Regions from separate parts of the Homo sapiens genome. Here regions 2, 3, 4 and 5 are each linked to region 1. The links are contacts of gene promoters, found by promoter capture Hi-C in human tissues and cell types (Jung and others, 2019). All regions are on one chromosome and are shown on one strand. Each heading gives the region's core, a stretch centred on a gene start or on the middle of the fragment in contact. The rest is flanking DNA. Distances are from core to core; before and after follow the strand shown. Region 1 holds the start of CCAR2 (cell cycle and apoptosis regulator 2). Region 2 overlaps PEBP4 (phosphatidylethanolamine binding protein 4). Region 3 overlaps PIWIL2 (piwi like RNA-mediated gene silencing 2). Region 4 overlaps PEBP4 (phosphatidylethanolamine binding protein 4). Region 5 overlaps PPP3CC (protein phosphatase 3 catalytic subunit gamma).

Evidence for each region. Contacts are between HindIII fragments. The study calls those that stand out against the background at their distance.
Region 2: a contact is called between a fragment that was not itself captured here and the fragment with the promoter of CCAR2 in region 1, in 2 of the 25 tissues and cell types used here (lymphoblastoid cells and mesenchymal stem cells).
Region 3: a fragment that was not itself captured here is called in contact with the fragment with the promoter of CCAR2 in region 1 in 1 of the 25 tissues and cell types used here (lymphoblastoid cells).
Region 4: a fragment that was not itself captured here is called in contact with the fragment with the promoter of CCAR2 in region 1 in 6 of the 25 tissues and cell types used here (aorta, lymphoblastoid cells, mesenchymal stem cells and 3 more).
Region 5: a fragment that was not itself captured here is called in contact with the fragment with the promoter of CCAR2 in region 1 in 1 of the 25 tissues and cell types used here (hippocampus).

The regions. Positions count from the first base shown.
Region 1 is chr8:22,602,422-22,608,173 of GRCh38, forward strand. CCAR2 (cell cycle and apoptosis regulator 2) reads left to right here and starts at 2,336. Exons shown (of 21, transcript NM_001393997.1): 1 at 2,336-2,421; 2 at 3,315-3,410; 3 at 3,664-3,755; 4 at 4,186-4,277; 5 at 4,489-4,603; 6 at 4,775-4,904; 7 at 5,548-5,644. The coding sequence starts at 3,353. C8orf58 (chromosome 8 open reading frame 58) reads left to right here. Exons shown (of 7, transcript NM_001013842.3): 6 at 116-222; 7 at 774-1,721. The coding sequence ends at 885. It overlaps LOC107986876 (a long non-coding RNA gene), which reads right to left and starts at 2,579. Exons shown (of 1, transcript NR_160769.1): 1 at 712-2,579. RefSeq lists enhancers at 2,054-2,163, 2,170-2,670 and silencers at 2,334-2,633, 2,694-2,753. The HindIII fragment of the contact is 3,664 bases long and covers 1,858-5,521 here.
Region 2 is chr8:22,811,267-22,817,453 of GRCh38, forward strand. The region is part of intron 4 of PEBP4 (phosphatidylethanolamine binding protein 4); the gene reads right to left. LOC105379325 (a long non-coding RNA gene) reads right to left here. Exons shown (of 2, transcript XR_949584.2): 1 at 3,792-6,187; 2 at 139-539. Among named protein-coding and RNA genes, the nearest start is that of PEBP4-AS1, 64 kb to the right of the region's middle. RefSeq lists a silencer at 830-1,008. The HindIII fragment of the contact is 6,165 bases long and covers 1-4,939 here.
Region 3 is chr8:22,347,803-22,353,978 of GRCh38, forward strand. PIWIL2 (piwi like RNA-mediated gene silencing 2) reads left to right here. Exons shown (of 23, transcript NM_018068.5): 21 at 5,157-5,410. Among named protein-coding and RNA genes, the nearest start is that of SLC39A14, 16 kb to the right of the region's middle. The HindIII fragment of the contact is 6,194 bases long and covers 1-5,134 here.
Region 4 is chr8:22,855,538-22,861,114 of GRCh38, forward strand. All of the region lies in intron 3 of PEBP4 (phosphatidylethanolamine binding protein 4), which reads right to left. Among named protein-coding and RNA genes, the nearest start is that of PEBP4-AS1, 20 kb to the right of the region's middle. The HindIII fragment of the contact is 5,295 bases long and covers 825-5,577 here.
Region 5 is chr8:22,458,211-22,464,244 of GRCh38, forward strand. The region is part of intron 1 of PPP3CC (protein phosphatase 3 catalytic subunit gamma); the gene reads left to right. Among named protein-coding and RNA genes, the nearest start is that of PPP3CC, 20 kb to the left of the region's middle. The HindIII fragment of the contact is 5,055 bases long and covers 142-5,196 here.

The sequences.
Region 1 (5,752 bases), core at 1,086-3,585:
GATTCCTGTTTGGAGCAGGCGACTTGTCCTGGCTGTGGCGACAGCTGTCTCTGGGAGCTTGGTCGGGGGTCTGAGTGTGGGGAGGGCTCTGGGTGACCCCTCATCCTCTGCTCAGCGGGATATCTCCCACTGGGACAAGGTCAAGGTCCTGCTCAACCGGATCTGCCGGAGAAGCCACCACCACCCTGAGCCCCCTGCCCCTCCTGATGGCTCTGACCCCAGGTGAGCCCCGTGCCCAGCCCAGGTTAGGGCACGGAGAGGAGACTGATAAGCCAGGATGCTGAGATTGTCATGCCAGTTGTCATTATTGTCCCCGCAAAACTTGAGAGGCAGTCTGGGAGGGGCTGCTAGAAGAAACAGTAGTTAAAACACCCCATTTACAGATAAGGAGGCAGGGTTCTGGGTGGGGTTGGGGGTAGTTGCTTTTCCAAAGCCGCACGGTGAGTCAGTGACAGCTAGGACCAGAATGTGGGAAATCTGCCTACCCTAGCTCAGCAACCCCTCACCCTCAATGCTGACATTTAGGCCACCTTCCAGGTTCGTGGGGAGAGCAAGGTGGAGCACAAAGGATTTCACAGTGGGTGAAGGCCATCATGCTTCGGGGCTTGTATTGAATCGTTCTCCAGGAGGAAGAAATACCAAGTCATTTAACAGCCCCGGGCTGCGCCCACACCCAGCTACCCACCAGCAGATAAACCACGTTCTCTCAACTCTAGGGCCATTGTTAGTTTTATTTCCCCCTTCTAGCCTAATGTCTTCTTTTCATTCCACAGGATCGAGTCCAGGGACCTCCCTGAAAGGCCTCAGTGCCGCCCCCACCGGAAGACCTTTATGCCATCATTAGTGGTTAAGAAGCAACGAGCAAAAAACCTTTCTGTAGGCTGAGACCTCTCGGTGCACCTGGTGACCCTGGGTGGAGGGGACTTGCTGTGAAGTCTTCCTCGCCCTCTGCCCTCTTGCTGCTTCTCCACATTGCCAGGAAAAGCTGCTGACGCCTGCCCTCCTCTCTTGAGTCGAGGGCTGAATCTTTCTCCTCTAAGCAGTCTGGTCAGGAACCTTGGTTTCTTGAGAGGCCCCCAAGATGCCGCAGCTCCAGGGCTCTTCCTCCTCACCAGAAATCCCTGGGCTTCCACAATGTGAACTCACTCATTGTCAGGTGTCCGTGGAGTGTTTTTGGCATGGTGACCTGTCTGGGCCCAGCATGTTGCAGATGTGTATTTATGCGCAATGGTATGCATATCTCTGTGTGACTGTCAGTGTTGCAAGCTGGCTGGATCCAACCATCTCTTCTGAAATAATGCATCCAAAGGGTTGATATTCTGGGGGAGGTCACTGCAGAAGGATGGAACTGACCTTTATTCCCCAGTGGGCAGTTACTGAGCTTTCCTCCTCAGAGCCATGCTGGCAGCCCTGGGACAGAGAACGGTGTGGCTTTGGCTGCCTCTGCATGGAATCTTGCCCCGGACTCCTGAAGACTGCACAAGGAATGAGGAAGATCAGGGACAACCTGGGAACTGAATAACTTTCAAAGCCAGTGCTCAGCTTCTCTGCTCCGTACTAGCGTTTACAGGTCTTAATTCAAACCAGATGCCTGTACTAGTTTTTAGACCCCAAGTCAACCTTTCTGAGCCACAGCTTCCCGCTGGGAATAATGATGCCTGCCCTATCTACCTCACAGACTTGTTATGAGGATAAAGTGAGATTAAACTGCCTCAAAGTGCTTTGTAAACCTCAGGTGAATAGGAAAGGGGAAAGTAAGGCTGGAGTGATGATGGGGAGGTCGGAGGATAAGGGGGGGCTGGGATTGCTAATGGGGACTAAAATGGCCAGTCTCCTGGCAAGATTTTGAGCAGGTCATTTCATTGAGGCCTCTTAGATTTCATATTTGAGAATTAGGGCACTGATTCCTGACTGGCTAGGCATGGTGGTCACTGGCTTGAGTCAGACCAGGAATGTCTCTTAGAAATGGTCACTGATAGGCATCCTTCTCCTCCAGTCAGGAGGGGCTGGTTTCCTTATCTGTTGCAGTCTCGACTGCCAGAGGGAGGCGAGCGTGGTAGGCAGTCGGGGGTCCCTTGTGTTTGGGGGGCCCAGCTCCCGCTTCCTTTGAGCCCGGAACCAATGATCCGAAGCCTTCTTTCCTGATGGGATTCTTTAGCGAGGACACTACCGAGGCGCGACTTCCTGACGCGCATCCGATCCGGGAAGGCGCACTTCCGCTCCCCAGTTGCCGCGGGATGGCAAGCCGGCGTGGGGGAAGGGAGAGGTCGGCGGAGACGAGGGAGGGACCATATCCGGGAGAGCGGCAGCTTCCGACCAGTGGTCGCGCTTCCGGAGAGGCGCTTCCGGTGGCGGCGGCAGCAGCGGCTGTGGTGGTTCCGGGTGTCTTTGTCCCCCCGGTGTCGCTGCCCTGGCCCGCAGGTGGGTTGGGGGGCCCCCTGCCGCCCCTCTGCCCCTTCGCCCCTCCGCCCCTCCGCTGGCCGAGGGGCTGCGAGGGCCGGGCGGCGAAGATGCGTGGGGCGCGGAAGGGGCCGAGCCCCTCTTTGGACTGCAAGTCCCGTCTCCCTGGCAACGGCCTCGGCCTTGGGGGCGGGCGGGAGGAGGAGAAACCGCGCGCCTCAGTCCTCCCTTGGTGGCCTCGCCGCGGCTCTGCTGGGAGACCCGGCGCTGGCGGCTGCTGAGGCCGGAGCGGAGGGCCCGGGAGCGTGGGAGCAGGAGGGTGGCGCGCAGCCGGTTTCGCGTTTGGTCGGCCAGGGAGCTGCCTTCCCACCAGCCGGTCGAGGAAACAACGGGTCGGGCTTCCGGGGAGAGGGCCCACACAGTCTCCTCGCCGGCACCGGCCTCCTCCATTTTTCCGGGCCTTGCGTGGAGGGTTTTGGCGGATGTTTTTGAACGAAGGAATGTCATCGGGGCTCTCTCGAGCCCCTCACCCCGCCAGCTACTCTGGGGGTGGCGTGGCATAGTGAGAGGAGCGCTAAGTTGTTGGGAGGCCTGGGTGTGAGTAGCAGTTTTGTCACTACCTGGTTATGTGGCCCCGGGCAAGTCTCTTGATCTCTCTGAGCATCAGTTTCCTTGTCTGTAAAACAGCATGACAGTATCATGCACCACTAGGTTATTGTCAGGGCAAACTGGAACAATGTAATTTCTTGTTTCATTTCTTTCTTCTCTATATTCTCTCCATCCATTGCTTTCATTCATTCTTATTACCCACCTCCCTGTTTTCCGAAATATCCTTACTTAAGATTCTCCACTTTTCCGGGTATAGATGGAAATTTCCCTTATAAGCTGTTAATTTCTTTCTTTTTGGATTGAAGCCTTTTCCCCACGACTCTGAAAGAGGACAGCGTTCCCAATGTCCCAGTTTAAGCGCCAGCGGATCAACCCGCTTCCAGGGGGACGCAACTTCTCAGGTGATCACTGTTCTCCCTACCTGGCCTCATCCTGGGAAGTATGTGCTCTGGAGTTAGTTTGGGGTTTCCCTGGTGGAGAGCAATTTGCTGCTGATGTTCCTCTGGAAAGCAGGAGATGCCCACAGTGATTGCCAGTGAAGCTCTGTGGAGGAGCTGGCTGGAGCTGTAGCCTTTGGATTTACCACATCCTTTGGTTGACTCGTGCTTAAGGTGGTAGGGGCGGTTCCTGGAGATTGCTTCTCTTTCCCCATAGGCACAGCTTCAACATCTCTTCTGGGCCCTCCTCCTGGTTTGCTCACTCCTCCTGTGGCCACAGAACTGTCCCAGAATGCCAGGCACCTTCAGGTAGGTTCGGCATCCCTTGTAGTAAGTTTCAGCCCTTGGGACTGAATGCATGGAGGCCTGGTGCTCTTTTTCTCTTACATAATAGTGTTTATCATTCCTGATCCCTCTCCTGGTAGTGGGCTAGTATGGGGTTGCCCAGATAGCCTTCAGACTGGGGCATCTTCATTTCTCGCTCCAGGGAAATCTTTAGCTTACGTCTTGGAATTAATGAACTGGAAATCCCAGAAGAAGCTTGTGGGTCAAGAACCAGCTCAAACATGCCCCAACCCCTAATGATGGAGTATGCCCACCACACCTGTACTTCACTCTGTGCGAACTCTTGATGCAGTACGCTGAGCTGGGGCGTGGGTTGAGATGAGACCTTCATGGCAGAGTGTGATTTTGTCCAGTTTCCTCCCTTTTACTTTTCAGCTGTCTCCTTCTCTTACAGGGTGGGGAGAAACAGCGGGTCTTCACTGGTATTGTTACCAGCTTGCATGACTACTTTGGGGTTGTGGATGAAGAGGTCTTTTTTCAGCTAAGGTAGGCTTGAGGTTGGTCCCCTAACGGAAATGCTTATTGGATTCAGTTCTGTCACCATGCTGGTATTGCCCCCACCCGCCTCAAAGCCATTGCTTTGCTGTTTTTGTGCAAGGTGTGGGAAATCTTGATGGGAAAGGCCTCATAGGGGCAGTCAGGGTGGCCTGGCCAGGGTCCCTCTTCTGATGGGGCCTTCTGGCTTGTGTGCTGACAGTGTGGTGAAGGGCCGTCTGCCCCAGCTGGGTGAGAAGGTGCTGGTGAAGGCTGCATACAACCCAGGCCAGGCAGTGCCCTGGAATGCTGTCAAGGTGCAAACGCTCTCCAACCAGGTATTCATATCTCCTTAGCATGTGCATTGGAAAGGGAAGGGATGGAAGCCCCTGTGCCCTGACAGCTGGGCAAAACCCTGACTTTTGTCAGGGGGGTGGGACTGCATCTTTCCAAGGTAGTGAGTGCCTCAACCATGGGGTCCCCTGAATTTCCTGGCTCCTGTTCTGCAGCCCCTACTGAAGTCCCCAGCACCTCCTCTTCTGCATGTAGCAGCCCTGGGCCAGAAGCAAGGGATCCTGGGAGCTCAGCCTCAGTTGATCTTCCAGCCTCACCGGATTCCCCCACTCTTTCCTCAGAAGCGTGAGTACGAGTGGCACTGTTGTTGGGTGTGGCATTATGGGGTAGTTTAGATCAATGGACTTTCAGGTTGCTGCTCTTAGCATAGAGGTGGGTACTTCTATGTACTGGAAGAAAGGTGGGCAATCTGGATAGGTGTTTAGGGTTTTTTTTTTTTTTTTTTTTGATGGAGTCTCGCTCTGTTGCCCAGGCTGGAGTGCAATGACACGATCTCGGCTCATTGCAACCTCTGCCTCCTGGGTTCAAGCAATTCTCCTGCCTCAGCTTCCCCCGTAGCTGGGATTACAGGCGCCCGCCACCATGACCGGCTAATTTTTTTTGAGAGAAAGTCTTGCTCTGTCACCCAGGCTAGAGTACAGTGGCGCGATCTCGGCTCACTGCAAGCTCCGCCTCCTGGGTTCACACCATTCTCCTGCCTCAGCCTCCTGAGTAGCTGGGACTACAGGCACCCACCACCATGCCCGGCTGATTTTTTGTATTTTTAGTGGAGACGGGGTTTCACCATGTTCGCCAGGCTAGTCTTGAACTCCTGACCTCAAGTGATCCATCTGCACTGTCCTCTCAAAGTGCTGGGATTACAGGTGTGAGCTATTGCACCCGGCCGGTTTTTAGGGTTTTTGAGTCACCAGTCATTTCCTTTCTGCAGCTCTGAGTCTCTTCCAAACATCCCACACACTTCACCTGAGCCACCTGAACAGATTTCCTGCCCGGGGCCCTCATGGACGGTTGGATCAGGGCCGAAGGTAAGAGGATGATGTCCCTTTTTTTGGCCACTTGTTGACACTAACATTCTCTTTATTTTATTATTATTTTTTTGTGTTGGCCAGGAAGTGAACCCAGGTCAACTGCTT
Region 2 (6,187 bases), core at 607-3,106, 210 kb after region 1:
AACACTGCTCACATGGATAACAGGACACAGCGACCTCAGCATACGAGAGCTAATTTGGCTCTTATCTCCAAATAATTTCACATCGCAAATTACCATGAAAACCTAAAGGGCTTTAAAAACATTCATCAAAAGATAATATTCCGCTTTGTAGCAACATTTTATTTAAATTATTTTGAATGGGAGCAAAAGCATCTCTAGGGCGGGACAATGACAGCAGAGTGGGACTGTGAGTGATAAGGAGATGGCAGGGGCACTGGCTTCTGTTAAAAATAGAGGTGGGAAATGTTGGAGAGGAAGGGGCTGCAGCCCCAAATGTGGGCAGTGCACCATAGGCCTGGCTGTCACTTGCAGCCCAGCATCACACCTGGGCTGTGGCCTGGGACGGCTCCAGGGAGTCTGCTCTGGTTCAGGAGGTCACAGGGGATCCCTAGAGGTGGAATGATGGGACTGACCAAAGGCTTCCAGGCTCCAACACGCTTTGGTTTCCTCAAAAGCCAGCTGGGGTCACGTTAGGTCCTCCAGGCTGGGCCTGGACTCATCTAGTTTCAAAGGGCAAAAGGATGAGCTGTGTTGGGCACTGTCTAGAATTTTCACTTTGCAAGACTTGAGTCCAATTGTCTAAGGGAGTTTGCTAAATCATAAGTAGCTGCTATGGTCAGATGTCAAAGTTGGGGGCTGTAGGGGAGATAATTACATTTACCAAAGTCCTACTATTCTGTGTCAGAAGACTTAATCTCATTGAACGCTGGGAAATAGATATTATCATGCCCATTTTAATGATGAAGAAACTGAGCCTCAGAGGCTTCTCCTCTTTGCATATGTAATTTCCTTTTTCCTTGTCTCCACTCTGAAGAGTGAGGATTTCTGTCAGTTTCACAGAGGCAAAGTTGCAGTCTCAGAGAGGTCAAACAACTCGCTCAGCAGTGGAACCGATCACTCAAGCACAGGTGTCCTGGCATGTGCTACCCACATAACTAGAAAGCAGGGAGCCATAATTCTTGCCCTGTTTATTGGATTTCCCATTATCTTATTCACCTAATGTACTTAGAGGTCCTTCCCACCTGGAAGCGGCAGAGCCTGGAACCTCCTCTAGTTCATCTGACCCAAAGTCCGAGCTCTTTCCCTTTCCCTTCAGGGTGGCCACATACAAGTCTGGTTAATAATCACCTGGTTTATGGCCACCTCTGTGCTGTCTCCATCAGCAAGCACTCTTTATGGCCCATAGAGCTGAACCTACATGTTAGGAAGCCTAAGTCACGCCTTTTAGCTGCTTATTAGTTAAAATGGATCCTCACAGTACAGGTCAAAGCATGCATGGGAAACTGCACAAATATCAGTGGCAAAACTGCAAATACAGCTCTAAAGACAGAAGTCATTATTAATCCCATCTCCTTGGTTTGACCTCTTCATCTGAACTTGCAGGCCTGATAAAGATTGTTTATTCTGTTTATTATCATTAGTGTGGTTCTGGATATATAGAAAATGAGATTATATCATTATTTTTATATCGATATATTTAAATTTCTACAGGCTCTGCTGCTCCATTGATTAGGCACAAGGATACACGTGCCGCTTCCTATAGTGCCTCTCTCTAGGGACGCTTCTCCTCTTTGCATATGTAATTTCCTTTTTCCTTGTCTCCACCCTGAAGAGTGAGGATTTCTGTCAGTTTCACAGAGGCGAAGTTGCAGTCTTAGAGAGGTCAAACAACTCGCTCAGCAGTGGAACCGATCACTCAAGCACAAGTGTCCTGGCATGTGCTACCCACATAACTAGAAAGCAGGGAGCTATAATTCTTGCCCTGTTTATTGGATTTCCCATTATCTTATTCACCTAAAGCACTTAGAAGCCCTTAGGAAAAAACCTCTAATTATGGAAAAATTTAACCCTACAGAAAAGTAGACAAAATAATGACCCTTTAGAGACTCTTTTAATTCAACCCAGAATTGGTTGCATTTACAGTTGCCAAAGGTTGAGGGCACTGAATGAAAGGGAACCATGAACTTGCCAATTTCCTTTTCTTTCTTAAAACAAAAAAGATATTCAGGGCAAATTTTAGAATCATTGACGGTTTCTAGGAAGATTTTCTTTTTTGGAAGAAAAAAGATACTCTTGTCTCCTTAATTGTTCTTAGTGTTCTTTGTCACCAATCATGATATTCTTTGTGGAAAGTATTAATATACCATCTTCCCGTGTTCAATATCCCCATTAACAATAAAAAGTCTAATGAAAATATCTGCATGAAAAGCTCTGAACACTAACTTCAGAGACAAATAAAAGATGCACCAATAAGTGTTTCTTTGAAAATGAATGATGCAAATTAATTGATATCCTAATGAGCTTTCAGCATGAAGATTATTAGTTAGATGGAGTCAGAACTGAAGATCATCTTTAAGGAAATGCTAAGGACACTGCAGTCGGGGAGAAAGATGTTATCTGTCAATGCTCAGTTAGAAATCGCTCTTGCTCAATGAGAACTTTTCAAAGAGGGAGCCAAGTGGGACAGCATACCTTATGTATCTGTCTCTGCCTGTCCTAGCCTGGCCAGGTTCGGAGACTGGAGCCTAGTCCTGTTCCTGAGTTGATGGAAACCCACAGGTATAGGAAGTTCCACCCCAAGCCAGCCTCTGGGGGTCTCGTAATACCACCACTGTGCTGCAGATTCCTTCCTTGGTCTCTAGAATAGAAGCCCTGTGAGGGCAGAGCCTTCCTCAATTTTGTTTGCGTTTGTGTCACCAATGCTAACCTAGCTGCCTGATTTACAGCAATAATAATATAAGAGCAAGTAATGATGTAGAGTTTACTATGTGTTCTGGGTATTGTTCTGAGCACTATCCTTAAAATAATTCGCTTAAGCTTCATAACAACAGTGTGAAGTAGGCACACTACTATCTCCAGCTTACGAGTGAGTATATTGAGACACAGAGAGGTTGAGCAACTAGCCCAAGATCACACAGCTAATAATGGTAGATTAGGAATTCAAACCACAGCAGTCTGGCTCTGGAGTCCTTGCTCTTAACCACTGTGCTATACTGAATAGTGTTCTATATATATTTCTTGAATTAAACGAACAAAGGGGTACCATGAATTAATGCCCGGTCCCTACTGCCAGGCATCTAACTTTTGGCTTTTATTTAAGTTATCCAAAGTTCCAGAGCTTTATCCTACTCCGTACTAAACCCTGCCAGCCCCTCTTTGGAGTGGAGGTGGGGGGTGCCACAGATATTTCTTGTATTCCTAAAAACTCGTTGCTGTCCTGTTTCAACCCAGATAGCCTGTCAAAAAATTGTCCCTACTGAAGGGTTCCTATGGCCATGGCCTGATCAACCATCCAGTTAGACCTGGCCCCCTAATATCAGGGTCAGCTGAAGTTCCACCAAGTTTGCTTCTGTGGTCATTGTGAACCACAGGGCCATGGTCCCTCTCTGTCTGCAGAGACTTTATGGCAGGCTTTCCTACTAAGGCTGCTTGGGTAATGATGGTATTTAGGGTGTAGTATTATGGGGTCCAAAACACTTACCTAGTGTGTTTTATTTAACAAGATAGTATTCACTGGGGACAGTTCCCTGGAAGCATCTACCCATAAAGGATAGTTAGAAAAAGAACTCTGGGAGTGAACCGGGGGGTGGTGGAGGGAACCACAGAGATGATGTCTTCCTTGTTATAGAGAGGGGATAGTGGCTCCTTGTCCTAGTGGAGTTGATGGGAGAGATGTGATGTGAACTCAGGCCACATGGTACGGCAGGAAAGGCATGTGACTTGGGGTTAAGGGACGCGGATTGAAGACTCACCTCTCTTACCCATTAGCTAAGAGATGGCATCATTCAACTTCTCTGGGCTCTGCTTTCCCCATCTATAAAATGAGGATTATGTCTATTTCACAAAGTGGTGTTGAGTTTCAAGAGTTTTAAAAGTGCTTTTCGCTTGAAAATTGCTCCACAAATGAGTGATGTTAAGAACGACCGAGGCATCCCAGCTCTATGGTCTTCCTTCAATCTGCTCAACCCCTCTGGATGCTTGTTAAGCCAGAATGCCGTGTTCTCCCCAGACCGACCGAGGTGGAAGTTCTGCGGGTGGGGTAGTGCCTAGGCAGCTGCATTTTAACAAGCTCGTCTGCCAATTCGAATGCACTCAACTGTTTGAGACCCACTTAGCAGTGGTGAACACCAACACAAAGGAAGTACTCTGGGTTTGATCAGAGCCTTCACTTCCTCTGGTCGAGGTCTAGAATCTGAGACCTAAATGAATTTGGTTGACACCGTCTCTGTGGCTGGTGGAATTTTGGGGAAGGTGGGCAGGGCCAAGTGGATATCGCTGCCGCTTCCTGCTGAACACTCACGAGGGAAGCAGTGCAAATGTGACGGAAACCCGCGCCTCCTCCGGCCTGAGCGGGAAGGCCGAGGGCCGCACCCGGGCAGGTGGCACTGGTAAGCTCTGTGGCTTAGCAGCCTTGCCGGACAGCTGCCACCTGTCACCTGCCACCTGTTCTACTTCTAAGCTGGGCTGCTGAGGCTAAATTCATGTTCGTTGTACAGAGCTCCTGTGAGAGGTCCCTTCTGAGTATGGGGGTAAGGGGAGTGCAGGAGTCGGGGGTCTTCAGGCTTGGAAGAGAGGCAGCCTCATGGTCCCAAGTCCTCTCAATTCTGAAGTCATCCCACCCTAACTGCTTTTGCACTCCGGCCTCAGGACCGCCGAGCAGAGCTCCTAACAGGAAGCCCTGTGTGCCTGGGGTGGCTGTGAATGTGACCTTCAGGGCAATACTTCTCTCTTGAGTGTTTCACCCCTGAGACCGCTGGGGAGGCCTAAGTTCAGAAAATGACAACGCTCTAGCCTTGGGGGGTGAGGGGGAGATGCCAGTTCTTTCTCTTTCATGCCCACTGCTCCTCTCCCCTTCCTGATGGCTCAAACCTCCCAGCTCTGTCCCTTTGTGTGTTTATGGTGTTTGGCCAGGGAAGTGTGTGGAGTAACAGAGGTGGCTCCAGCACTGCCCACGAAGCTGCTGCTTGGGTCTCCCTTGAGGAAGCCCCTTCCAGGGCCATAGGCAGGGCTGCCTCTAAGGATGCCTGTCCACCTGAGCTCCGTGGGAGGGGCCCCGGTCACTGGGCCACCAGCTGGTTGCCAGGGTAACTACCCTCTCACCCCCCTACTCCCACCCAGTGGCTGCGAAAACCCTGCCTTGCTCAGGATAGTCACAAGCTAGTTCAGATTTAAACCCCTTCCTCCACCCACAGTTCTAGAAGGAAAAACATAAACTCTTCATAGTTGCAGAATTATTTGTTTTCCAAAGTGCTCTCATAAGTCATTGGCTCATCATGACAATCACAGCAAGTCAGCAGCACATTTCCCATATTACAGAGCAAGATGAAATGCCCAGAGGAGCCGACAGAGGTCACTGGGTTGGTAGCCAGCCAAGGTCCAAACCACATCCAAACTTTGTTTTTCTAGTTCCGAGTTCCCACTATCTTACAGAGTTGATGCCTTTGTATACTGTTTGCAAAACCCATCTGCAGGTGTTCTAGGCACAGATTCGTGACTGTTTGAGGCTAGTGTGGACTTCCCCAAAGAGCACTGCCAGGCACTCATGAACAAAAGGATTCAATAATCAAATGCAACTGGAAAATCAGTGTATATGATATAGAGCATACTAGACTAGTAAAAGCTCCAAAAGCCCTTGAGTGAGAAACAGAATGAATTCAGTTCAACTCAGAGTATCCAAAACTTGTTTGGCAACACAGCCTTTCCCTCCCACATAATGGCACAAACAAGCCACCAGATTTGAGGACCCTCCCTGAAGAGGGTGAGCCAGGCTCCTTCACAATTATCGTGATGACAAAGACACAAAGATGAGAGGCGGCCACTTGTTTCTGTACACAAAGAAAAGGAAGTTGCTGTGCCTCTCTCATGCCCCATGCCCCATCATGGGGAGGAGCTCCAGGACTTCTCCTGGCCGGTTCTGCCACCTGCACGTCTCAGAATCCCCTCAGTGCCCCCAAATCCAGTGGTGTGCTGAAGCCAATTGTTAACGTTTCAGAAACAGTGTGAGTCAGTTGTTAAATCATCAGGAGCTTGAAATTAAATCACCACTCCCGTGGTGGGAGTATTTATTTATACCATAAAAATCAGCAAACACTAGAAATCAGGACTCTCCCCACCCTTCTAGAAAGCTGGGTTACCAGCATACCACTGG
Region 3 (6,176 bases), core at 788-3,287, 250 kb before region 1:
AGGTGTGAGCCACCACTCCTGGCAGACTCATTCTTCATGCCTTTTCCTGATACATTTCTCCCTCCAGGGAGCAAATCTCTTACACTCCTCTGTTGCCATAGCATTTATATCTTTATTATGTTATTTATAATATATTGAGGGCATTTATGCGTCTGCCTCCCCTTTTTAATTTGAGTTCCATGAGGATCTGGATAGTATTAAAATAATGTTTTAGCTGAGCACAGTGGCCCACGCCTGTAATCCCAGCACTTTTGGAGGCTGAGACAGTGAGGCACATCACTTGAGGTCAGGAGTTCGAGACAAGCCTGGGCAACATGGCGAAACCCCATCTCTACTAAAAATACAAAAATTAGCCGGGCATGATGGCGGGTGTCTGTAATCCCAGCTACTCGGGGGCCGAGGCAGGAGAATCGCTTGAACCCGGGAGGCGGAGGTTGCAGTGAGCCGAGATCACACCATTGCACTCTAGCCTGGGTGACTGAGCGAGACTCCATCTCAAAAATAATAATGTTTTAATTTTCTGAGATAAGTGCAGTGGCTCATATCTAGTGGATGTGAAGTATTTGTTCCGTGAATGAATGGAGCCACACATAAAAACATGTCAAACACTCAGCAGATATTTTTTGCCTAACTGACCCTTGCCCCTCTGCGCAGTGCTAAGGGATACTAAAATTAATAAACACAGTGTTGCTTTCGAGAACATTCATTACTTACTGTTTCAAGTATCTACTGAGTACTGAAGTGGTTTTTATAACATACATTTAGGAGTTCCAACCTGGGCAACATATTGAGACTTCGTCTCTACTATAAATAAAAAAATTAGCCGGGCTTGATGGCACATCCCTGTAGTCCCAGCTATGCTTATAGTCCCAGCTGCTCAGGAGGCTGAGGCAGGAGGATCGCTTGAGCCCAGAAGGTTGAGTGACAGAGCAAGACCCTGTCTCAAAAGAAAGAAAAACACATTTAAGAGTTATGTTTCAGCCTTGTGATTTGTCCTATATTCTGACTCATCCCTCAATCATAGTTTTATAACTTACAAAATGAAGAAAATAGACTAGATGACCTAGACAGCTTAACATTGTTGATTATTTTTAGATTTTTCAGCTCCTTGATTCCTTTCGGTTCTGTTGGAGGCCTACCTAGGGCTGAGTGTGGTGCCTTGAACTCAGTGGTTAGTTGGCAAATGTTAAAGAAGGAGGTGATGCCAGTAGTTACCAAAGTCAAATTTGATTTCTATTTTTCTTTTTTCTTTTTTTTTTTTTTTGAGATGGGATCTCACTCTGTCACCCAGGCTGGAGTGCAGAGGCACAAACTCTGCTCACTGCAACCTCTGCCCCCCGGGTTCAATGCACGCCACCAGGCCTGGCTTATTTTTTGTATTTTTAGTAGAGACGGGGTTTCACCATGTTGCCCAGGCTGGTCTCAACCTCCTGACCTCAAGTCATCCGCCTGCCTCAGCCTCCCAAAGTGCTGGGATTACGGGCGTGAGCCACACTGCACCCGGCCTTCTATTTTTCACTCCATTGATTTATTAAGTCCCTTCTTTGTGCTTCGGAATATCTGTATATCCTTGATCTAGCTCGGTCTCAACTTTTGTGTACAATATATGTGTGTGTGTATATATATATATATATATATATATAAATTTTACTTTATCCCTTTTAACAACCCTGAGAAGAAGGTGAGATGATCATTTTTCTTCACTTTTCAACTGAAGAAATTGAGTCTTGAAGGTCACAGCTAAAGGAGTAGCAGAGTCAGACTCAGTCCCAGGTCTCCTGACCCCAAATCCACTGTACTGTCTGTTTCCTTGTCTGTCAAATGAGGGTTTCTTCCAGATCTGAGGTCCTGGGTCACCTGCCTTTTAACACAGCGAGTTAGTTAGGAGTCTTTGGGAATTAACAGGAACTGGTAACTTGAGCAGAATAGAAATTGGCAGGATCGTACAGAGGCTCAGAGGATTGGTGAGAAGGTGGAGCCCCAGGCTGGTAAATGGGCATGATTCAGGCTAACTCCTGGGGTTTCAGAAGCAGGGGCCTGAAAAGGCACTGCCATTGAAGGGCCAAACTCCACTGTTTTGCATTCTCTACTCAAGATGGAAGCAAGGGAGGAGCAGTCTGTTGGTGTGGCTCGAGTCGTCTACACATCCTTTGGTTAGTGAAGTGGTTCTCAACTGGGAGCAATTTTGTCCTCCCAGTGGGTGATATATAAAGGCGTTTTTAGTCATAAGGGTGAGAGGTTGCTCCTGGCATTTACTGAATAGAGGCCACGGATGATGCTAAATGTAGATTCTGCAGTGCACAGGACAGCCCTCTAGGATGAAGAATTATCTACCCACAAATGTCAGTAGAGCTGACAGGTTGGGAAACCTTGGGTTGGGCTAGGGCACGTTGACTAATAGTCCCACCAGACTATATCTTGTTGGGGGCAGGAGGAAACTCAAGTGCTATTACTGAGAAAAGATGGAGTAGATGCTGGAAAGCCAAAAAAAATTTTTTTAAGGGTACTACAGGCCAGGTATGGTATCTCACACCTGTGATCTCAGCACTTTGGGAGGCCAAGGCAGGCAGATCACTGAGTCCAGGAGTTCGAGACTAGCCCAGGCAACATGGTGAAACCTCCATCTCTACAAAAAATACAAAAGTTAGCTAGGCATGGTGACACAAACTTGTAGTCCCAGCTACTCAGGAGGCTGAGTCAGGAGGGATGGCTTGAGCCTGGGAGGTGGAGGTTGCAGTGAGCAGAGATGGTGCCACTGTACTGCAGCCTCGGCAAGAGCATGAGACCCCATCTCAAAAAAATAAATAAAAAGTACCACAAACTGGTGCAATCTGAGACTGTGAAGATGAATTACATACTTGTAAATGTAGTGCTTGAGGCTTCTTAGGAAAAGGGGTCATTAATATTTGAAATTCTGGGCCAGAAGTGGTGGCTCATTCCTGTAACCTCAGCACTTTGGGAGGCTGAGGGAGGAGGATTACTTGAGGCTGAGAGTTTGACCAGCCTGGGCAACATAGTGAGACCCTGTCTCTAAAAAATGTTTTTAAATAAAATTAGGCTGGGCGCAGTGGCTAACGCTTGTAGTCCCAGTACTTTGGGAGGCCAAGGTAGGCGGATGACCTGAGGTCAGGAGTTTGAGACCAGCCTGCCCTACGTGGCAAAACCCCATCTCTACTAAGAATACAAAAATTAGCCAGGCATGGTGGTGCACACCTGTAGTCCCAGCTAGTCCCAGCTACTTGAGAGGCTGAGGACCAAGAATTGCATGAGCCTGGGTGGCAGAGATTTCAGTAAGTCAAGATTGCATCACTGCACTTCAGCCTGGGCAACAGAGCGAGACTCTGTTTCAAAAAAAAATAATTAATTAATTAACTGGCGTAGTGACAAGCACCTGTAGTTCCAGCTACTTGACAGGCTGAGGCAGGAGGATCTCTTGAGCTTGGGAGTTTGAAGCTGCAGTGGCTATGATTACACCACTGCAGTCTAACCTGAGCAACAGAGTGAGACCTCAATTCTTAAAAAAAAAAACAAATTGAAACTCAACTTTTTAAAGGGATTCTAAGTGCTTATTTTTTTAAAGTATTCTTGGAAATCACATTTTCATGTAGAGTAACCTGTAAGGAACAGTGCATACATACATATATATATATATATATATATATATATATATATATATATATAATTTATATCTAAACCTAATTCATAATTTAGGTTTTTTTGGTGTTTTTTTTTTGTTTTTTTGTTTTTTGTTTTGAGACGGAGTCTCACTCTGTCACCCAGGCTGGAGTGCAGTGGTGCAATCTTGGCTCACTGCAACCTCCACCTCCCAGGTTCAAGCAATTCTCCTGCCTCAGCCTCCTGAATAGCTGGGACTACAGGTGTGCACCACCACACCTGGCTAATTTTTGTATTTTTAGTAGAGACGAGGGTTTCACCATGTTGGCCAGGGTGGTCTTGAACTTCTGACCTCAGGTGATCCACCCACCTCGGCCTCTGAGAGTGCTGGGATTACAGGCGTGACCCACCGTGTCCAGCCCATAATTTAGGTTTTTGAGGGTAAGTATGAACACAAACTTAGAATGAACCACACTCCACTAGAATCAAAACTGAATTAAACTAAAGCACTTTTAAAGGGAACTTCCATTTTAAGTTGAAGTGAACTTACCCTCTTGAATTTTGTTGCCCAGGCTGGAGTGTAGTGGCACAATCTCAGCTTGCTGCAACCTCCACCCCATGAGTTCAAGTGATTTTCCTGCCTCAGCCTCCCAGGTAGCTGGGATTAGAGGCATGTGCCACCATGCCTGTGTAATTTTTGTATCTTTAGTAGAAACAGGGTTTCAGCATGTTGGCCAGGCTGGTCTTGAACTCCTGACCTCAGGTGATCCACCCGCCTTGGCCTCCCAACATGCTGGGATGACAGGCGTGAGCCACCGTGCCTGGCCCTTCTTGAATTATTGAAGTTGAACACAACTAGAACACAATTATATTCCCTAAATGGGGGAAAAATTATTCTTCAAATTGCTTCAAGCAAGCATTTAATTTAATTTGGACCCATAGACAATTCACATAGCTAGCTGTTTGCTAATTACTTAGTTACAGTAAAAATGTTTTACTGTATGTTTACTGTATGTTTTACACCATACCAGACTGTAGGGTAATATTTAGTAAAGGGACGTTTCACTTGTCAGCAACTTGGGATATTTCCAGTAGGTAAAAATCTGATGGCAGCGGATCTGTGGCATATGTGGTCATATGTTAGAATTTCTCTAACACTTTACCTTATTCTTTGCCCCGACAGTTATTAGTGTTAAATCCAAGTAGAAGGAAAATTGATTCAGCCTGCAGTTTTCCCAGCATTCCTTTGAACTTTGTTTGCATTGTTTGTGGATAAGCCGTATGCATGTGACTCATAACTTGCATGTTTTGCTTTCATGTTTTATAACACCTTTGCTGCACCAGGCGTGTTTTACTACCCCAAGGAAGTCTAGAAATGATTAGAAGCTTTTTTTCCCTGCCCTCTAGGCACAGTAGCTTTGGCACTAACTGCAAAAGGATCTGCCATGATTCCAGGCTACACAATGCGAGTGGGCCTCTCACTGACTGTGGTCCGTAGCCTGAGGGCTCTGTGAGTCACCACATCCTCGCTGTCATTTCAGGTGAACCACTGTCTACCAGAGAAGATTGTGGTGTACCGTGATGGAGTGTCTGATGGCCAACTGAAGACAGTTGCCAACTATGAGATTCCTCAACTACAGAAGTGTTTTGAAGCTTTTGAGAATTATCAGCCCAAGATGGTGGTGTTTGTAGTTCAGAAGAAAATCAGTACTAATCTATATCTGGCTGCTCCTCAGAACTTTGTAACTCCCACTCCTGGAACTGTGGTAGATCATACAATAACAAGCTGTGAGTGGTAAGTGAGCAAAATATGTAGTATTGGAGGAAGAATAAGTTGGAGATGTTGTCACTTTCCTGAGTATTGGAATGGGGAGGTTTCCTGGAGAGTTGTGGACTAGAATCTCAGAGAGGCTACCGTTAAAAGAATGAAGGTTTAAAAAATATTTAAGGGCCTGGCATGGTGGCTCACGTCTGTAATCCCAACGCTTTGGGAGGCTGAGGCAGTTAGATCACCTGAGGTCAGGAGTTCAATACCAGCCTGGCCAACATGGTGAAACCCTGTCTACTGTAAATAACAGAAATTAACCAGGTGTGATGGTGTGTGCCTGTAATGCCAGCTACTCGGGAGGCTGAGACAGGAGAATCGCTTGAACCTAGGAGGCGGAGGTTGCAGTAAGTCCACTGTAATCCAGCCTGGGCAACAGAGAGAGACTCTGTCTCAAAACGAAACAAAAAAGATTTAAAAACAAGAAAGCTTTTACCTCTTAAGTGAAAAGTTGAACATACCTTGTTTTGCTAAGATAGCGTATGCTTAACTTCTACAGGAAGATAAGGGAGTTTCTACCACTTTTTTTTTTTTTTTTTTTTTTTTTTTTGAGGCAGGGTCTCGCTTTGTTGTCCAGGGTGGAGTGCAATGATGTGATCTCAGCTCACTGCAGCCTCAACCTGCTTAGGCCCAGGTGATCCTCCCACCTCAGCCTCCTGAGTAGCTGGGACAATAGGCGTATGCCACCATGCCCAACTAATTTTTGTATTTTTTGTAGAGACAGGGTCTTGCCATG
Region 4 (5,577 bases), core at 2,222-4,721, 250 kb after region 1:
CTGTGCACCCCTGAGGTTAAGTCTTCTGCAGAGAAAATTGCTGGAAGTATTATGTCCCTGGAACTCAGCGTTAAATCAAATGAGAAAGAATGTCCTTATGCGTGGGGAAGACCTTCCCAATGATGATATCAAAATCAAAATTATAAAGGAAAAAGACTTATTAGACTATGCAAAAAGGTACAATTTCTCTACATAAAAATACCACAAATATAGTAAAAAGCAGCCAGGCATGATAGCTCACGCCTGTAATCCCAGCACTTTAGGAGGCCAAAGCGGAAGAATTGCATGGGCCTAGCAATTTGAAACCAGCCTAGACAACAAAGTGAGACCCCATTTTTACAAAAAAATTTTAAAAATAGCCAGGTATGGTGGTGCACGCCTGTATTGCCAGTTACTTAGGAGGCTGAGGCAGGAGGAGGATGGTTGAGCCTAGGAGGCTGAGGCTGAGGCTGCAGTGAACCATATTTGCATCACTGCACTCCAGCCTGGGCGAGGGTGAGACCCTGTCTCAAAAAAAAAAAAAAAAAAAAGGAAACCTAATATAATAAAAAGCAAACAAAAGACCAAGAAGATATTTGTAACATATATGATGAAGGGGATAATATACCTAATGTACTAAAAAGTCTGACCAATCAGTAAGAAAAAAGTCTAAATAGAAAAAATGGGCAACAATGGAGAGAAAAATCACAAAATAAATACACATTGCCAAAAAGCACATGAAAAAATAACCAGCCTAATTTATAATCAATTAGGGTACTATTTTTTACTTGTCAAATTGGTAATTATTTTAACAAATTCTAAAATACAGTGTTGATGAAATGTTGACAGTATGATAATAGAAATTGGGTTAACTTTCTTGGGGCAAATTTGGCAATGAATATCAAAAACCTTGAAAAGGGCTGAGAGAGGTGGCTCACACCTGTAATCCCAGCACTTTGGGAGGCCGAGGCAGGCGGATTACTTGAGGCCAGGAGCTCGAGACGGGCCAGGCCAACATGGCGAAACCCCGTCTCTACTAAAAACACAAAAAGTAGCCAGGCGTAGTGGTGCATGCCTATAATCTCAGCTGCTGGGGAGGATGAGGCATGAGAATTGCTTAAGCCCAGAAGAAGAGGTTTCTGTGAACCGAGATTGCCCCATTGCACTCTAGCCTGGGCAATAGAGGGAAACTGTCTCTAAATAAATAAATAAATAAATAAATATATAGAAAAATAAAAAACCTTGAAAAGGTGCATACCCTTTGATCTATTAGTTCCTCTTCTAGGATCTTACCCCCAGAAATTAAAAATAAAGTCAAAGATTTAGGCCTCAGTTTTCCTGACACCAAATTATTTATAATAGTGAAAGAAAAACTTCCCCAGAAACAACTCAATGTCCAACAAAGGGGAACTGATTAAATGAAGGAAGATAGAGTCTGAACTCCACAGAACACAATTCAGCCATTAAAAATGATAGGTGAGTGTTTGATGACATGAACTGATGCACTATGATGTTAAAAAAAAGCACAAAATTATAAGCCAGTCTGTGAAGTAAGATACAATTGGTAAGTATAAAAATGTAGAGGAATTTATACCAAGATATTAATACTGGCTTATCTTTTAGTGTGGGAGTAGGGACATTTAATTTTTTTCCCTTTCTTTAAAAAAAAATCTGGGTAGTCCAAATTTTTATAGTGGACATTTCCTACTTTAAAAAATGAAACCTACACACACACACACACACACACACACACACTTACTCACTCACACATTTTGGTTTAATATCCTGAGGCAGTTTACAGAGAAAGCATCTATACCATACGGGGCTCCATCACCTACCAATGCTATACCCTTCTCTCAGCCTCTTGCTCCCCATCACCCATTCCAGAAAACACTTGTGGCCAGAGCCAAGTTCTTGAAGGACCGCCAGGAGTGGAAGACTCAGTGCACAGTATATTCTGGCTTTTAAGCAGTGAGTGAGATTCACAGCAAGCAAACAGCAGAACTGGAATTGGAAGCTAAGATGACAGCAGGCCAGAAGCTGGCCTGGTTGGTAGGGTCCTTGAACCCAGGACTGATGTAACGAGTCTTTCATCTGAAGTCACAGGAGAACCTGAAGTTGGGGGAGCAAAGAGAGTTGATTCTGGTGGGATGCAGAGTCCAGGACCAAAGAGGGAGGTGGAAGTGGGTTACTAAATGGAAAAGCCAGAAGCCAGCATCGAATACTGAAGCATTCCTCATAAGCTTTTCTCTCTATCTATCTGACTTTGTATATGACATGGTTAAGGCAGCATACCAAGTCAGGGAGCAGTGAGCCATGGAGAAGAACAGGGGGCAAGGGATGGGGAGCAAGAGGAGAGCTGTCCATGAGAACTACCTGCAATAGTAGGAATTGTCCGTCACCTGACTTACATGCCCCTGGTGCATGGTGTGTTGGGCGATGCTTCACGGACCGTCCATGGGGCAAACTCTTAGTTGTTAACCCAACCATCTCCTCCACCACTTTTCAGAGCGTGGGGACCATGGGGTAGAATTCTTCTAGGTGACAAGGGCTGAGACATTTTGTTCTTGCTGCTATTATAACTAAGGCGGGGTCCTCTCCATGTCCCAGTGAGAAGGGATAGCTTCAGCAGCACCCACAGACCCAGCTAGTCAAAGAGGGATAGTGTGGGTGTTGAAATGGTGAAAGGAATCGTTCAGCTTCCTGCATTTCTTCTTAAGTTCCTTTCTCAGATGTTGGGCAGCAAAATAGTGACGGCATCTGAGGAGTGTAGCTGTTTTTAGCAACGTGGCTTAAGAAAGGAGTTAACATGGCCTTAATGAATAACCACAGGTTAACCCTTATCATCAATCTCAGAATGAGAATTTCCTTCTTCTCTTTTCATTTTGGTAAATGCAGAGATAAGGAGCATACAGAATATATCCTCACTGTCAAATGCTTGGCCCCAGCATCCTGGGAAAATGCAGAGTATTAAGTATCTCATCCTGTTACTCAGATTTCAAAGTATGGCATTCTCTCTATCCCATTCATTTTCTCAATATTCTTAGAAAGCAAGAAAGGGATAATTAGACTCATCTTAGAGATGAAAAAACTGAGACTTTGAGATGACAACTGAAGCCTAAAACTCTCATGTTAGATAAATAACAGAGGCTGGGCCTGGTGGTTCATGCCTGTAATCCCAGCACTTTGGGAGGCCGAGGCAGGTGGATCACTTGAGGCCAGGAGTTCGAAACCAGCCTAGCCAACATGGTGAAATCCCGTCTTTACTAAAAATATAAAAATTAGCTGGGCATGGTAGCGGGTGCCTGTAGTCCCAGCTATTTGGGAGGCTGAGGCAGGAGAATCGCTTGAACCTGGGAGGCAGAGGTTGCAGTGAGCCAAGATTGCACCACTGCACTCCAGCCTGGGTGACAGAATGAGACCCTGTCTCAAAAAACAACAATAACAAAACAGAACTACACAGAAGGGACTACCTTGTGGTCATCTGGTTTGGACTCCATTTAGAAGTCAGCATGGCACGGGTGTCCCCATAATACCCAAACACTTCAAAAAACCCAACATGCGGAATTCCAAGATGTCATAGACCAGCTCATTTCTACTTTCAATAAGTAAACCTTTGTCTTAGGCTGAGAGAAGCCCAGCCTATAAAGCAAACTACGGCAGCACCTATCTACCAGGGAGCACTATCACATGGCCATCAGACTCCCCCCGTGGAGCCTGCACCCCAGGAGAAAGTCAAAGATGGAAAATCCAAGTGGCTTCTGAGGCAGAGCCAGTAATTCGCCGAGTGTTGAGCTTGCAGCACTGAGGTTGCTTACAACTATTCAATTGGAAAAAAGTCAGACTCATCAGGCTGGAATCTCATTAGTTTCCCTTAGTGAGCTGGAGCTTGAATACTCCAGGGGGATCAGTCCAAAACAAAGCCAGCAGAGGAAGCAGCCAGAAGTGTCCAGGTGCAGTGGGCTGTCTCTGGCCCAGGTGAGATGAGCCTCGGGACCTATTTAGAAGAAGAGGTTGGGTTGGGATAGAACTGAGATAGCAGCTTGGCATACTGGCCCACAGAGTACCTGTGACGGCTGTCTAGTAGCCAAGATTGAGAATATTAGAAGACCCACTTCAGCAATGTATGAAATCAAAGCCCACATTTTAAACTCCACACTCCCTGACACGGCATTTGAGGCCCATCTGGTCTCCATCTTGCCTCATCTCCTATTATGTCCCTCCTCGTACTTTAACTTTGGGCCCTATCAGTCCAGCATCCTTTCCTTGCATACAACCTACACTCTTATGCCTCTCTATCTTGCCTTACATCTTTGTTTTTGTAGATCCCTTCCCAATCTTTTTAAAAAATATTGTCTTTGGGAGGCTGAGGCAGGAGGATCACTTGAGCCCAGGAGATGTCTGTCCCTGGGCAACATAGGGAGACCCCATCCCTACAAAAAATTTAAAAATTAGCTGGGTATGATGGTGCACGCCTAAAGTCTCAGCTACTCTGGAGGCTGAGGTGAGAGGACCTCTTGAGCCCAGCAGTCAAGGCTGCAAATGAGCTATGATCATGTCACTGCACTCTAGCCTGGGTGACAGAGTGAGACTCCGTCTCAAAAAAAAAAAAAAAAGAAAAAGAAAAAAAATTATATATACACATATATATGTATATATATATACACATATATATGTATATATATATATACACATATATGTATATATATATATGGTGCCAGAATACACATATCATGCAATTTGCCATCCTAACCATTTTTCAGTGTCCAATTCGGTAGTCTTAAGGACATTCACGTTGATATGCAACTGATCTCCAGAATGCTTTTCATTTTGCAAAACTGAAACTCTTTACTCATTAAACGACTCCCTCTTCCCTCTCCCCCCAGCTCCTGGCAACAACCATTCTGCTTTCTCTCTATGAATTTGACTCCTCTAGGTATCCTGCCTAAGTGGAATGGTACAGTACCTGTCTTTTTGTGACTGGCTTATTTCACTTAGCATAATGTCCTCAAGTTCCATCCATGTAGTAGCATGGGCCAGAATTTCCTTCCTCTTTAAGGCTGAATAATCTTCTACTGTGTGGATATACCACGTTGTGTTTATGCATTCCCATCTTTTTTGCCCTCTCAAAATCTGACTCTATCTTCAAAGCTTAAAACCCAGGATACGTACTCCGTGGAGCTTTCCTCAAGACCCTCCGTTACAAGTTAGTCATGTACAAAGATCTTTTGAGCATCTGTTCCATGCTAGGCAACAGGGACACAAGGATGAGTAGCCACAGTCTCTCCTGCACGGTCCATCCAAGCCCAGCTTACTGAGCACACTGCAGGTGACTCGGTGACAGCCCTGACTGTCCATGTTCATGACACACTGTGCTGCCACGAGGTCTACTTAATGGTTTCTGTATTAGTCATCTCATTTGTAAGCTCTTGAGGACCCGGGCCACATCTGATCTCAGTATCCCCAGTGCCCAGCACAGTATATTCAACATAGAAAATGCTCAATAAATATTTGTTAAAATAGAATTAAATTTGCATTCCTTGGAACGTAGAGCTTCTTGACTTCTAAGTGACTGGCCAGTTGACACAATAAGCTGGA
Region 5 (6,034 bases), core at 1,419-3,918, 140 kb before region 1:
ATAATTACTGCTCTAGTATTTTTTCCCTAGCACTTTCAAACGTTACTCAAAGAATCCTTCTAGCTCTTTGATACAAATTTTAGAACTTCACTATTAACAAATATCAGCTGGGCTCGGTGGCTCACGCCTGTAATCCTAGCACTTTGGGAGGCCGAGGCAGGCGGATTGCTTGAGGTCAGGAATTTGAGATCAGCCTGACCAACATGGTGAAACCTTGTCTCTACTAAGAATACAAAAATTAGCTGGCCGTGGTGGTTCTCAACTGTAATCCTAGCTACTTGGGAGGCTGAGACAGGAGAATTGCTTGAACCTGAGAGGCAGAGGTTGCAGTGAGCTGAGATCATGCCACTGCATTCCAGCCTGGGCAACAGAGCGAGACACCGTCTCAAAAAAAATAAAAATAAAAATAAAAATAAATAAATAAAATAAAGTAAAATAAAAATATATATATATCACTACTAGCTAGGATTTTAGGAAGGCTACCTATAGAAACTTAGATATATTTAGTTATGGAATGTTTTGTTTTTCAGTTGGTAATGTACACTCTTTCAGTGTTTCAAAGGAGGATACTGGATAATTCGATTTGAATTGTAAATCTCCCCAACTGGTGTTGGAGAAACCAGAGGAGTTGATGATTTTATACACAGTCTTTCCTACCTCTTATTATTGAGAAAAGAGTGTTAATTGTGGTCAATGAATTTCTTCAAAGTTTGCTGCTTTTAAATCAAATTAAGGAAGTCAGCAACTATAAGTAGAATGATATGAATAAAATGTTTCATTGTTATGAAGAAGTGTTAGTAGCACGTGGCATTATGTGTTTCACATATTGAAGTTGACACCAGAAATATACATTTGTAATTTTTTTTTTTTTTCTGAGACAGAGTCTAGCACTGCTGCCCAGGCTGGAGTATAGTGGTGCAGTCATAGCTCACTGCAGCCTGGAACTCCTGGGCCCAAGTGATCGTTCCGCCTCCACCTACACCTCCCAAGTAGCTGGAATTACAGGCACATGCCACTGTGCCCAGACCATTTTAGTGATTTGTTATTTTTTAAATCTCTATTCTCTTTTTAATACAGAGCTGCAAATTTCTTACTTTTCTTTAGTGCAATCCATGTGTGAAATATGTGTTATAATTTGTAACTAACAATATTTGAAGTCCTGAAGTTTTTGAATGATCTTGTATGTAAGATTAGAGTAGATTCATGGTTCCCACTAATAACCACTTCATTATTATCACTTTGTTATGTGTGTGTGTGTGTGTGTGTTTAAAGAGATAAACTTATAGGTGGTTTATCTAGAATTGTGTAAAATACTTTCATTTTCATGAGAGAGTATCTTGCATGTGAGTATTATTTGTCACATGTTATGCCTACATTGTTGGTTGGACTTAAACTTTAGTGACCTCTCAGAGATTATTTTCATTCTAGTTCATGTCATATTACTTTGATATATGTATTAAGAAGAAGTACAAGAGATTATTTAATGCTATTGTCTGAATGTTTGTGACCCCCCAGAATTTGTATGTTGAAATCCTAATCCCCAATGTAATGGTATTAGGAGGTATGGTCTTGGGGAGGTGAAGTTTTTATAAATTTCTAAAAGAAAGTATAGGAAAAATCTTTGTGACTTTGGGGTAGACTATTTTCTTAGATAGGTCATAGAAGGCATGAACCATAAACGCTGACAATTGGACTTTTGAAAAATTGTTCTTCTAAAGATGTTTAAGAAAATGAAGAGGCAAGCCACAGAATGGGAGAAAATATCTATACTGCATTAGTGGAGTTTACTACTAAATTAAGAAAACATTAGAAGATTGTCTATATAGTATAACTGATTATAAAATAATGTATTTACATATTTAAAATATTAAGATATATACTGACATCTTAACAGTAGTTGTCTTTGGCTGGTGAGATTCTAAGAGTTTTGTTTTTGTGGTGGTTATTGTTTTTTGTTTTGTGCTCTTTTAAAAAATTGTTTTGCCTCAAGTGTATAGTATCTTTGATTTATAAAAATCTTTAAATAAAGATAGGATAGTTTGAAAGATTAGCAGAATGTTTACAATCAATACTTGATACTACATGGATAATACTTTCCTATTCTATTTTTGTAAATTCTGTGCTTGAAAATTTCAAAGAATTTTTTGTGTGTGAGTGTGTGTTTTGAGGTGGAGTCTCGCTATGTTGCCCAGGCTGGTCTCAAACTCCTGTCCTCAAGTGATTTTCCCATCTTGGCCCCCTGTAGCATTGAGATTACAAGCATGAGCCACCATTCCCAGGCCAAAACTTTCGAAACTTTAAAAAATAGCATGAAAACCTTTATTTTAGTCCAGGTGCAATGGCTCACATCTGTAAACCTGGCACTTTGGGAGGCTGAGGTGGGAGAACTGCTTGAAGCCAGGAGTTTGAGACCAGCCTGGGCAACATGATGACACCTGTCTCTACAGAAAATTTAAAAATTAGTCAGGTGTCATGGTGCATATCTGAAGTCCCAGCTACTCTGGAAGCTGAGGTGAGAGGATTGCTTGAGGAGTTCGAGGCTACCGTGAGGCATGATCAAGCAGCTGCACACCATCCAGCCTGAGTGACAGAGTGAGAGACCCTGTGTCTAAAAATGAAAAAAGAAAATCTTTACTTTATTTATTTATTTTTTGAGATAGAGTCTTGCTCAGTTGCCCAGGCTGGAGTGCAGTGGTGTGATCTCGGCTCACTGCAACCTCCACCTCCCAGGTTCAAGTGATTCTCCTGCCTTAGCCTCCCGAGTAGCTGGAACTACAGGTGTCTACCACCATGCCCGGCTAATTTTTGTGTTTTTAATAGAAACAGGATTTCACCATATTGGCCAGGCTGGTCACGAACTCCTGACCTTGTTATCCGCCCACCTTGGCCTCCCAAAGTGCTAGGATTACAGGCGTGAGCCACCGCACCCAGCTGAAAATCTTTACTTTATTTACAGCACTTTGTGAGCCATATTTAGCAAACATAGTTCCACATATGAAGTTTGTTTTTAATGATAAGGGGTTTTTAAACTTGATTTTTAGTATAAATACACAGTATAATAAAAGTTTGTTTACATTAGATATGAAGCTAATTACCACCCCTAACTGCTGGCTGGTTTTCTAGAATTGTAGAAGCAGGTGGTGAATTTTCCTGTCTGCTGATATCCAAAACACTCTGATTCCTGGGTAAGTTCCAGCAGTATTGGATGTTGGTAATATTACTGTTGGTCGATTAATTTATGATAGTATTATATACATCTCTAAAGTCTAATTCTATGTATTTTTTAAGTAAATAGTAGAATAACATGGCATAACATTTTAAAAGGTATGTGGTAAAAAGTCTTCCTATTCCTAACTGTCAGCCACCAGTTTCCTGCCATGGGACTGTTAAATCTCACCACCAAAGACCACCAAGAAAACATCTGTAGTCAAAAATAAGTTACACTGATTTAGCTTGCTGCAGGAAGGAATAACATACATCAGAAGAGCTGTGGGACCTCTCAAAAGGATAGAGTTAGGAAAGAGGACATACAGGATTTTAGGAGCTGTTAGTCACAGAGTAATGTTAGGATAAAGGTAGTAGTCTGGGCAGGGATTGGCTAGAATATGTAATTTGAGTGAGTTGCTGGAACAGCCAGTAGTTTTGCCTCTAGGACACATAAGTCCCTGAGGATTTACTGTTAGATCAGTTTGTGGTACTAGAACATACGGGTATGAGTGAGCTGATATTAATAAAGGTTTGAGGCTGGGCACAGTGGCTCACACCTTTAATCCCAGTGCATTGGGAGTCTAGGATGGGAGGATCGCATGAGGCCAGGAGTTTGAGACTAGCCTGTTTAACTTAGTGAGACCTCAGTCTTTAAAAAAATTTTTTTAAAATTAAAATTAACTGAGTGTGGTGGCACACACCTGTAGTCTTAGGTACTTGGGAGGCTGAGGGGGAGGATCACTTGAACTCAAGAGTTGGAGACTGCAGTGAGCTATGATCATGCCACTGCACCCCAGCCTGGGTGACAGAGGGAGACCCTCTCTCTTAAAAAGAAAAAAAATAAGGTTTGAGCTTAGATGGCCTGTGATGCACAGTACATTGCGGTTTGGTTTGGTTCAGTTTATCTGTTTTGCAAGTACTAAGTGCTTTTCTGTGCATCTGCAAGCAATTTGTAGTGTAATTTCAGTTTTGTTTCACTTTTTAATCTCTGTTTCTGATCATTCGTCCGCTAAACTGGAACATTTACCATTTAGGGGAGGTGATCAATCAAGATTTCAAACTGTCGTTTGATGGGTTGTGAATGTTTATAAAGCTTTGATGGTAGACATTTTGGCCTCTACAGGCACCAGGCCATTTTGTTCTTTTTTTTCTTTTTTCTTTTTTTTTTTTTGAGACGGAGTCTTGCTCTGTTGCCCAGGCTGGAGTGCGGTGGCACGATCTCGGCTCACTGCAAGCTCCGCCTCCTGAGTTCACACCATTCTCCTGCCTCAGCCTCCTGAGTAGCTGGGACTACAGGCACCCGCCACCATGCCAGGCTAATTTTTGTATTTTTAGTAGGGACGGGGTTTCACCATGTTAGCCAGGATGGCCTCGATGTTCTTTTTCTTAGATGATAATTTGTTGAATCAGCTGGTGTGACAGTGGCTGCACAGCAGCATTTAAGACTCTAAAGATCACACACTTGGCATCTGCAACACACTGAAACTCAGACAGTTATTATTAAAGTTTAAAATAATGTCCCATATATCCCATAATCTATTTGGATTTTCCTTTGGGCAACCAAATATATTTTTTTTCCTTTAATTTGGATATGGGTCATTCACCTTTGCAACTGTCCCATATTTGGTTTATATTTTGCCAAGGATAAGCATCTTGATAGTGCTAACAGTAAGGAAAAGTTATCTGTTAGCAGCCTAAAATCTTACAACAGTGGAGAGAGAAGAAAATGCCAAGAGAATAAAGGACAAAATCATGCAAGTCTGTAGTCATCAGTGGCTTCTGGCATCTGGGAGGTTGTGTTCTGATTATCTTGGACATAAATAGTCTATTCATTTTATCTTCTGCTTCTGGACCATAACAGTTCTGGAAATCTTGGCTCACCCACTGTTTGTCCATGGCAATGATGTCGGCAGTATGCATCATTAATTTATTCTCTGTAGTGTCAGTAATGGGTGCATGATACAAACATTTACAAAAGTTCTTTTGATAAGTCTTCCACAAGGCTCAATTCCTATCTTTAGCTTATAGCCAGGAACTTTAGATGAATGTAAGGAAGAAGCGGAAACCACCTGTGGATCATGGGACTATAGGCTTTAGTTGATTTATTATATTAACCAGCATTATCAGAATGGAAGGGAGTGGAATCTTCTATTGCAGAAAGTACATAATGAATTTTATGAGTAGTCACTGATTATCCTAGAAGTAAGAATATCTCACAAACAGGGAGGACATTGACAGTCTCTAGGACTTTCTTTCATTTATCCTATAAAGTGTATTATGAGTTTCACCATTCCAAGTTTACTGAAACCTAGAAATAAAATCCTTTTTTAGATAGCTATTGTGGCAGTCTTTGTACTCGAATGTATGTTTTCTTTTTTTTTTTTTTGAGACGAAGTTTCTCTCTTGTTTCCCAGGCTGGAGTGCAATGGCATGATCTCGGCTCACTGCAACCTCCGCCTCCTGGATTCAAGCAATTCTCCTGCCTCAGCCTTCCAAGTAGCTGGGATTACAGGTGTCCACCACCAAACCCCGCTAATTTTTTGTATTTTTAAGAGAGATGGGGTTTCACCATGTTGGTCAGGCTGGTCTCGAACTCCTGACCTCAGGTGATCTGCCTACCTCGGCCTCCTAATATTTTCTTTAAGCCGAAAGATACTTAAATGTTGAAGTATATTTATTTTAACCACATTTTATTATACATGATTAAATTGGGAAGGCTTAACTTTCCTTATGATTTGTGAGGTTTTTTTTTCCCTTTAACCCAAATTTAATAAAGCAAAGAGTTCTCACAAAAGTTTTAAGTTAATTAAAATTCAGAGTATGCCAA